3 separate regions of the Homo sapiens genome follow, and all the other regions are linked to region 1. The links are contacts of gene promoters, found by promoter capture Hi-C in human tissues and cell types (Jung and others, 2019). All regions are on one chromosome and are shown on one strand. Each heading gives the region's core, a stretch centred on a gene start or on the middle of the fragment in contact. The rest is flanking DNA. Distances are from core to core; before and after follow the strand shown. Region 1 holds the start of WIPI1 (WD repeat domain, phosphoinositide interacting 1). Region 2 has its middle 120 kb from the start of LINC01482. Region 3 has its middle 94 kb from the start of LINC01482.

Region 1 (2,831 bases), core at 193-2,692:
AAAAAGGACACAGAAAATTGCACATGATATTTTGTGAATAGTGTATGTGTTATGGGTATTGGGTGATGTTGCAATACATATTTCGTATTGTGGATTGTGGTCAAGAAAAACTTGAAAGTCACTCAAATAACCAAGCTGTAGAGCTACTCGATTACATGATTACACATATGGGTTTTTCAAACAAAGGCATATTGTTCAGCACCGGGTGTTTTTAAACAGAAACATAAAGGGAATGGAAGCCAGGGTGGCTAATGGTACATAATGGCCTTAATTACACCACTGAAGGATCAATATTAGCGTAGCTCAGTCACCAGCAGCCAAGGCACAGAAACTGGTACAGCAGGAAGTGGGAAACTGGGAATCGGTCATCCCCGCCTGATGCTCAGGGTGCACATTCCAAAAAGATGATTCCATATGGTCCCCAGGGCTCGCTTCCATGAAAATAGGGAAAGAAACAGGCGTTTGCCTGTAAGTCACAGAATCCTGCAGATGCCTGAAACACACTTCAGCCCAGCTCCCTCTCAAAGCCCAAATGTGAACATCGAAGTAAAACATTAAAAATCCACTCAAAAACAACAGGGTGGAGCTCCTGTTTCCTGGAGAGAAAGCAGTCTGCGCCCGGGAAAAGAGTCTTGGACTCCGAGAAGGAGATCCTGCCTGGCTGGGTGGGCGATGTGAAAACAGCCAAAGAAATCCAAAGGTTTCTTCCATCCAGAGCGGGCAGGCACGATGCCCTGCGTCGGGGATGGGACAGGGGCTGGCCTGGCCGCAGGGATAGGCTGCCTCTTTGTCCGAGGCCCTGCCCAGATGCCACGTTGAGATGCTCAAGGACAAATGGGAAAGTTTTTCCTGTACTCTCATCTTCCTGGGCCCCAACTACAGAGTCCTGGGTCAACTTGCAACTTCCTCTCCTTTCTCATCTCTTTCTTTTGGCCACTGTCTCTCTTCCCCAGACACCCACTTTGGTCACTGGCTTTCCCACCGCCCTGCTCCCCCCATATTCCGTGGCCCCCGCAGCCCCACCACTCCCTTTGCGAACTCCCTGCTTTCACCCTTGGCCCAACCTTGTCGCTCTGGGAGGACACTGGGAGTGGGGTGGGGTGGGGGGTGCGGCAAACCCCACTGAAGGGGTACGGGGATAACAAGATCCCAATGCGTCCGAAGCAGACACCGGCCCTCCCGCCGAGGCCGCCTCGAGGCGGAAGCCACAAGCTGCTCTCAGGACGACACCCCTGGGTCCTGACACTCTGTCCCCCACCTCCCTGGCAGGGGCCGAGTCGCAGCTTACGTGCAGTCCTGGTTGAAAGAGAAGCAGCTGAGCGCCGACTCAACCCCGCCCGGGGGAGCGTCCGCGGCCTCGGCCTCCATCGGGGGCTCGGCCCGGGAAGCCGCAGCTCGGAGCCGGCGACAGCCACCTCAGCAGCCCGCCCGCGCCGGCTCCACGGGCCGGGTCGCCGGTCCTGCCCCGCCCCTACCCCGCCCCGTCCCCACCCCGCCCCTACCCCGCCCCGTCCCCACCCCGCCCCTACCCCGCCCCGTCCCCGCCGCGTCCCCGGCTTCGCCCCGCCCCTTCTCGCCCCTCCAGCTGGTCCCGAGGACCAGAGCACCTGATAGGGCGGGGCCCCTGCCTCCGGCCACCATTGGCCACGAGCCCAAGCCACGGCTGGCGGGCACCGCCCCCCTTGGCCAATCCGTGGCAGCTGTGGGCGGACCCGCCCGGCTGGCGACCCGCCCCTGGCTTCGTAACGCGGCTCTCCATTGGACAAAGGCGCGTGACGCAAAGGCAGCAGGCCCACGTGGCGGTGTTTTCATTGCCGGAGCCGCCCAGCTGGGAGGGAGAGGGAAGAAGGAATGCGGCTGGGGCCAGATCTGCTGGTTTCAGTCCGGCAACTGCGTCGGGGCCGCCGCAAGGGTGACAGGAGGACGCGCTAGTTCCCACCCCGCCCAGACCCCTTGCCATGTGTAACTCTGCCTATTAAACTTACAGAGTTTAGCAGAGAGCGTTAGACTCCAAAGCCCCACCCTTTTGTCGAGTCCTCAAGCCGCATTGAGAGAAGCTCCTGAAATGGGGCTGCCTCAGCCAGAGAGATAGCAAGTTATCTTATCCATTGCCGAGCGGTTGAGAACCCTCACTACTTGCCAAGCGCGCCGTACTATGTATGTCATCTTGAATTCTTATAAAACTTGTGTGGAAAATACGATTGTGCTCAATATACAGAAGAGGCAACTGAAGCTCCAAAGCTAAACAATTTGTCTAAAGTAACAGTAAATGGTAGAATGTCTGCATGTCTGCTTTCAAGACCTGTGCACTAAATAACTGCTAAACAGTAATTTGCAAAAACAACGTAGCACCTAGCATGCGAGATTCTAGGTTTTCTAACCAGGACAGAAATGACTGCAGCATTTGACGGAGCTGGAAGGTGGGGGGAAGCACCTTTGATCTGAAAAGTTACAAAAATGGCACAAAGTATCTAAACAAGACCTATCCGATCCGCAGCTGAAAAAAATGAAAGTGTGTGTAGGGCAGTGTAGTTTATGAAAGGGGTAACGTCTTGAAGATATAGCACAATTCAAAACTCACGTAATTCGAGATAAACCTTAACAAAGAATCTCTTTTTAAAAGCTGAGTACTGTACATGTTCCCATGCGGAATTACTGTCAATACGGTTTATGAAGCAGGAGCTCTGCCAGCTTTGGATTGTATAACTGCTGATGGATTTTTAATTCATTTTTTCAAATTTTGAGATGATATTTTAGTTATTGTTATATGACAGTCTCTCAAATCAGCATAATTCAAATTTATTAGGTTGGTGCAAAAGTAATTGCGGTTT
Region 2 (2,831 bases), core at 91-2,590, 290 kb after region 1:
AGCTGCATACTTAAGGCTTGCACATTTCACTATATTTGTGTTTAGTTCAATGCAATTCATAGAAAAGATGAAAATTTGCCAGTGCTGAAGAGTCAAAGGAATGTTGCTATGGGCCATGGAGTTCATTCCCAAAAAGTAGTCCCAAAGCTGTTTTGAGATATGAGAATCAGAGGAAGATATTTACTTTATAAGAGACAATATTCACTTAGATGTTCAGCTCTGCTTGCTAATAAACAAAATCTAGTCTCTTACCTACAGACTTATTCAACCGGTGTTCCTTGAGAGAATTAAGTCCTACAGAAAATGCTTTGAATGACTATTTTCTCAATTCTCCCATAGATAGTACAGAGTTAGGAGCATTTTCGATGCAAACAAGATAAGTTAATACAATGCATGTCCTAGGATCTGAGGGCTTAATTCCCTGCAGGATCCCTGGCTGAGAAGGGGTGTAACTTTAGAATTTCTCCTGGAAAAGTGGTGAGGGGTGGAGGTGGGGAAAATGGGATAAATTCCTACCCAGTTCTCCAGCCTGTCCTTTGACTTAGCATGAAGGTAATTTATTTCCTGATACCAGAGAGAGTGTTTTCAACATTGAAGGAGCAATTGTGCTGTTGAGAAGTAATAGTGTATTTGAAAGCTTCTTTTTCCTTCATTTTTAAAACACTCTTTGAGACATTGGCTGTACTTGGATTTCCTTTTTCGCAGCTCCGTAGCATTTGTTTCTGCCAGAGAATAATGTTTTCTATTTAGGAATCACAACTGAAGAAGTGTTTGAGTCACATATGATTCCAGGGGCTATTGTTTGAGGTCTGCAGATGAAGTGAAAGCAAGAAGATAACCACAAGTTATCACAAATGGCTAAGTGTTTTGAAGAGCAGATATCTACTCCAGATCACCTTCATTTGGTCATTTTTGAACTCATACGAAGGTTGTATTCCCTTTTCTTTCATCTCATACATCCCTACTTTCACCGTTTAGATCAGACATGGCCAGCATAACTGAGGAGCAGACTAGAGGCCAAATCTACTTTTGTCATATCCTCTGCTTGGTTCATCAGCCTGGCTTTAGACCCTAAGAGTTTTTAATCATAATGATACAGGAAGGGGGCAGGGAAGTGCTGGGTAGAGAAGGGTGGGGTCCTTGGTGAGGGTTCTACCCTCGGGCCTAAGCCCATGGACCTAAGTGAGAACAGGCACTCTTGTTTTTGAACCCAAATATTGCATTTTTCAAGACCACTCTGGCCCACCATGCCCCCCATCCTGTGCCCATAAAAATCCGAGACCATAGCAGGCATTGACACAAGTGGCTGGACATTGGGAGGTGCACAATGTCCAGAACACACTGACAGACACCAGTAGACACCAGCAAGCCATCGATGGTGGAACAACGTGGATGCCAAGGGGTATTTGGCCAGGGACGGTCAGAGGTGAGTCTGGCTGCTGGGTGGACGAAGTCCAGGGGAAGACCACCTTCCCACTCCATTCCCCTTTCTAGCTCCCCATCCACCTTACTGAGAGCTGCTTTCACCACTCAGTAAAACCTTGCACTTATTCTCCAAGCCCACGAGTGATCCAATTTTTCCTGTACACTAAGGCAAGAACCCAGGATACAGAAAGCCCTCTGTCCTTGCAATAAGGCAGAAGGTCTAATTGAGCTGATTAACACAAGCCACCTGCAGGTGGCAAAGCTGAAGGAGCACAATGTAACACATGTCCACTGGGGCTTTGGGAGCTGTAAACACTCAACCCTAGATGCTGCTGTGGGGTTGGAGCCCCAAAACACACCCCACGACCTGCCCATCTTCATGCTTCCCCTAGGGGTTTGAGCAGCAGGGCACTGAAGAAGTGAGCCACACTCCTGTTTCATGCCCTGCAAGGGGGATAAAGAAACTTCTCCCGTTTCAGTGGTGTCTAACTTGGTGGTAACTATCATACAAGACTCACACAGTGGCGCCTTGATGCAGGTTGATTCTTGCATCAATTTGAGCAGATTGGCTGAATCAGCACAGGAGATCAGAAGGAGGGAACAGGCTGCTGGACAAGCACAAGGGAGAAGTTGCCTTGCTCCTCTGGAGGGTCATTCAGGTGTGGGCGATATGATCCTTCAGCATCATGGTCTGCAGACACTTGTAGGAGAGGATGCCCGAAACCTTTCATCATAAAAGAAAGAATAAAAGTCAACATTTCCATGAGTTTCTGGATTGTGTTAATGTTAAAGAATCCTATGTCAGTCATTCTTATGCAGATCAGGAAACCCATCTAAATCCCCTGTGTTTGTGGCTCTTGGATTTAAGTTATTTTATTTGAAGATCCTAACTCACTTCTAAGAGGCTTGTGTACCCACAACATCCTGAATGTTAAATATATAGTAGTGTGTTGGCTGTGATTCATTCCAATGACAACCCATTTAATTTGATGGCTAAGATATATGTATAGAAACGGAAAAGAGCCTTATGCTGATGTTATCTATTTAAGACGGATGGCGATTGCTTGTGTCCAGCAGCCAAAGAAAGACATAAATCAATAATACATTTTAATCTTACCTTTGTCTATATCATTTAATAAACATTTATTGGTACTGACTATGAACTAGGTTCTGGGAGAAACAAACGTAAAATATAATCCTCGCCCTCAAGAAACACTCAGTGTAGCTAGAAAAACAGACGTGTAAATAAATAATTAGAATATCATGTAAAAAGGGTTTATTTTAAAAATGCAAACAAAGGCAGGGCATGGTGGCTCACTCATATAATCCCAGCACTTTGGGAGGCCGAGGTGGGTGGGTCACGAGGTCAGGAGATCAAGACCATCCTGGCTAACACGGTGAAACCC
Region 3 (2,831 bases), core at 233-2,732, 270 kb after region 1:
ACAGTAAAATAAAAGTACTTAGTGAACATTCCAAAGTAATGTAGAAAATAATACTATGAAAGAACTGTACAAGGCTGGGCACAGTGGCTCACGCCTTTAATCCCAGCACTTTGGGAGGCTGAGGTGGGTGGATCACAAGGTCAGGAGTTCAAGACCAGCCTGGCTAATATGATGAAACCCTGTCTCTAAAGATACAAAATGTATATATATATATGTATTAGCCAGGAGTGGTGGCATGCATCTTTAATTCCAGCTACTTGGGAGGCTGAGGCAGGAGAATTGCTTGAACCCAGGAGGTGGAGGTTGCATTGAGCCGAGATCGCGCCATTGCACTCTAGCCTGGGTGACAGGACAAGAATCTATCTCAAGAAAAAAAAAAAAAGAAAGAAAGAAAGTACTGCACAAATATAAGAACTCACCATGATTACTTTTATGATTGTGTGAGGAGACAAAAGGTAAATTATGGTAAGTACTGTAATTTAGCCAATGATATGAGCAAGATCAAAAAGAATAACAAAGATATTTTTTATTGCAATGAGAGGAAAATGCAATGCACAAGGAATTCTCATTGCTTTTGTGTGTTTGAAAATGTCCATGACAACATGGTTTAAAAAATACTTTCTTATTTTAAAAACTAATTCCCTGAAAAAGTTTTAAAAAATACTTCCTTGTTTGGCTATTAAAGATTAGCTAGGATGATGGTTAAAAATAAGGATTCAGTAGCCAGAATACCTGGGTTTGAATTTCGCCTCTGCCACACTCTGTGTGACCTTGTGACCTATTTTATCTTCTTGTGTCTTGCTGGCTTCGTCTATAACATGTGGATAAAAATGGTACCTACACCATAGGCTTGGTAGGAGAATTAAATGAGTTGACGTTTGCTAAGCACTTAATAAATTACATACAAGTATTTGATAAAATACAAATTTTGTACAGAAGCAACAGATTGACCAAATATATTGTGGGTTTCAAATAGCTCCCATTTACAAGGAACATAAGGATCAGAAAGGTTAAATGACTTAATGTCACACTTAGTAAATAGCTGTGGCTGCATTTGATTCTGGGTCTGTCAGATTCCAAAATCTTGGTTCTAGGTGCTGTGCTGTCTCCTGTGGGGAAACTATGATAAGTCAGCCCGGTCTTATTTTGGCAAATGATACTGTATTTACCCTGACATTTAATGATGTCTTGGAGGGTTTCTTGGATGGGTCTGTTTGTGGGAAGGCTGAGATGCAAGTCCTTTTTAGAAGACAAGACTTGTTTATCTTTCATCAGGAGACACTACCTGGGGACCCCTAGATGGTGCCATCAGGACTTTAAAGGATGCCAGAGTTTGACAGGAGGTGAAGTTGGGACCTGAGAAGTACTTTCTGTTATTGGGCTTCCACTTTACCGAATGGGATCAAGGAGATGAAAATTAGAGTAAGAAACACAAGACAGGCCTAGTTGTGCTGCATTGTCCCACCTCATAAATGAAGATCTGTTGGCTGGGAGTGGTGGCTCATGCCTATAATTCCAGCACTTTAAGAGGCTGAGGGTGGGAGGATCACTTGAGCCCAGGAGTTCAAGGCCAGCCTGGGCAACATAGGGAGACCCCATGCCTATTAAAAAAAATCAGCAGGGCAAATTGGCACACACGTTTGATCCCAGTGTCTTGGGAGGCTGAGGTGGGAGGATTGCTTGAGCCCAGGAGGTCGAGGCTGCAGTGAGCCGTGTTTGCGCCACTGTGCTCCAGACTGGGTGACAGAGCAAGACCCTGTCTAAAAAAGCAAACAAAAAGCAACTGCTGTCACTCAATATTAAAAGCTACCAAGTTCGTGAAGCATCCTATGTGCCAGGCACACATATATTAATGCATTCAGATATTAACTTGATTCTTTTAGATGATCCATAGAAGCTCTAGAAGCTTGAATTGTCCTGCAGATTTATTGCCATTATTTGCACTATCTCTTGCTAACAGAATTATCACTGAATGTGTTTTATTAGCTCTAGAGTGAAATAAAAAATAGAACTAGACAGATTATGTAGGCTGCCTCCATCATATGGAAGGATAAGACCATTTCAGCTTTACTCTTATTTCTTCTGGGATAATGTTCTTACTCTTTTTGAATCAGGCTGATCTGAGCCCATCCTACACAAATGAAAAACTGCCAGCCTCACAGGATGTCAGAAGGAAAAATGAACATAGAAATGGGTTAAAACTTACTTTTATTCCTTAAAGAAGAATTAAGAAAAGGTTAGTTGCTTTGACACAGAGAAAATACTCATAAATAAAAACATGGGTAGCCGATAGATTATCCAATAATCTTTCAGCCCAGTTCAGTTTCAATGAATTATACTTCTGAGAATCAAAGCTAAATAGTCAAATGCCACACTATTACATTTTGATGAAAAGAGTGGGATCTTGCTTATCCTTAAATGTGGATTTTAATGACACTCTTGAATCTGGTGGCCAATGCCCTGTGATCACAGTGAGGGTAAAAATAGTAACAGCAACACTGTCATTAACATTGGTATATCTTATTCTTTACAAAAGAGATTCATACGCATTTTCTTATTTGATCTCCTCAATCCTGCATGGGACACTTTAGTTCTCCATTCTTGAAGTGGGAGAAATTAACGTCCAGAGATTATAAGACTTACCTACTATCATTACTAATAACATAAGTCATTAGTAAGTCCAGGACATTTAGAATATTTTCCTCTATCCCATTGTTTTGGACCAAAAAGTAATGAATCTGTGGTAGTGAAGACTGATCTTCATAAAAACACTTTGCATGATACTGGAAATAAGAGGTCATAAATAAATAAAAATTAGCTTGTGAAGTTTT

Evidence for each region. Contacts are between HindIII fragments. The study calls those that stand out against the background at their distance.
Region 2: a fragment that was not itself captured here is called in contact with the fragment with the promoter of WIPI1 in region 1 in 1 of the 25 tissues and cell types used here (aorta).
Region 3: a fragment that was not itself captured here is called in contact with the fragment with the promoter of WIPI1 in region 1 in 2 of the 25 tissues and cell types used here (heart right ventricle and neural progenitor cells).

What each region holds. Positions count from the first base shown.
Region 1 is chr17:68,456,054-68,458,884 of GRCh38, forward strand. WIPI1 (WD repeat domain, phosphoinositide interacting 1) reads right to left here and starts at 1,443. Exons shown (of 13, transcript NM_017983.7): 1 at 1,289-1,443. The coding sequence starts at 1,368. It also overlaps a transcript of PRKAR1A not described here. RefSeq lists silencers at 1,183-1,862, 1,599-1,885. The HindIII fragment of the contact is 15,120 bases long and covers 1-2,831 here.
Region 2 is chr17:68,743,804-68,746,634 of GRCh38, forward strand. No RefSeq gene overlaps it. Among named protein-coding and RNA genes, the nearest start is that of LINC01482, 120 kb to the left of the region's middle. The HindIII fragment of the contact is 6,081 bases long and covers 1-2,831 here.
Region 3 is chr17:68,721,184-68,724,014 of GRCh38, forward strand. No RefSeq gene overlaps it. Among named protein-coding and RNA genes, the nearest start is that of LINC01482, 94 kb to the left of the region's middle. The HindIII fragment of the contact is 4,290 bases long and covers 1-2,831 here.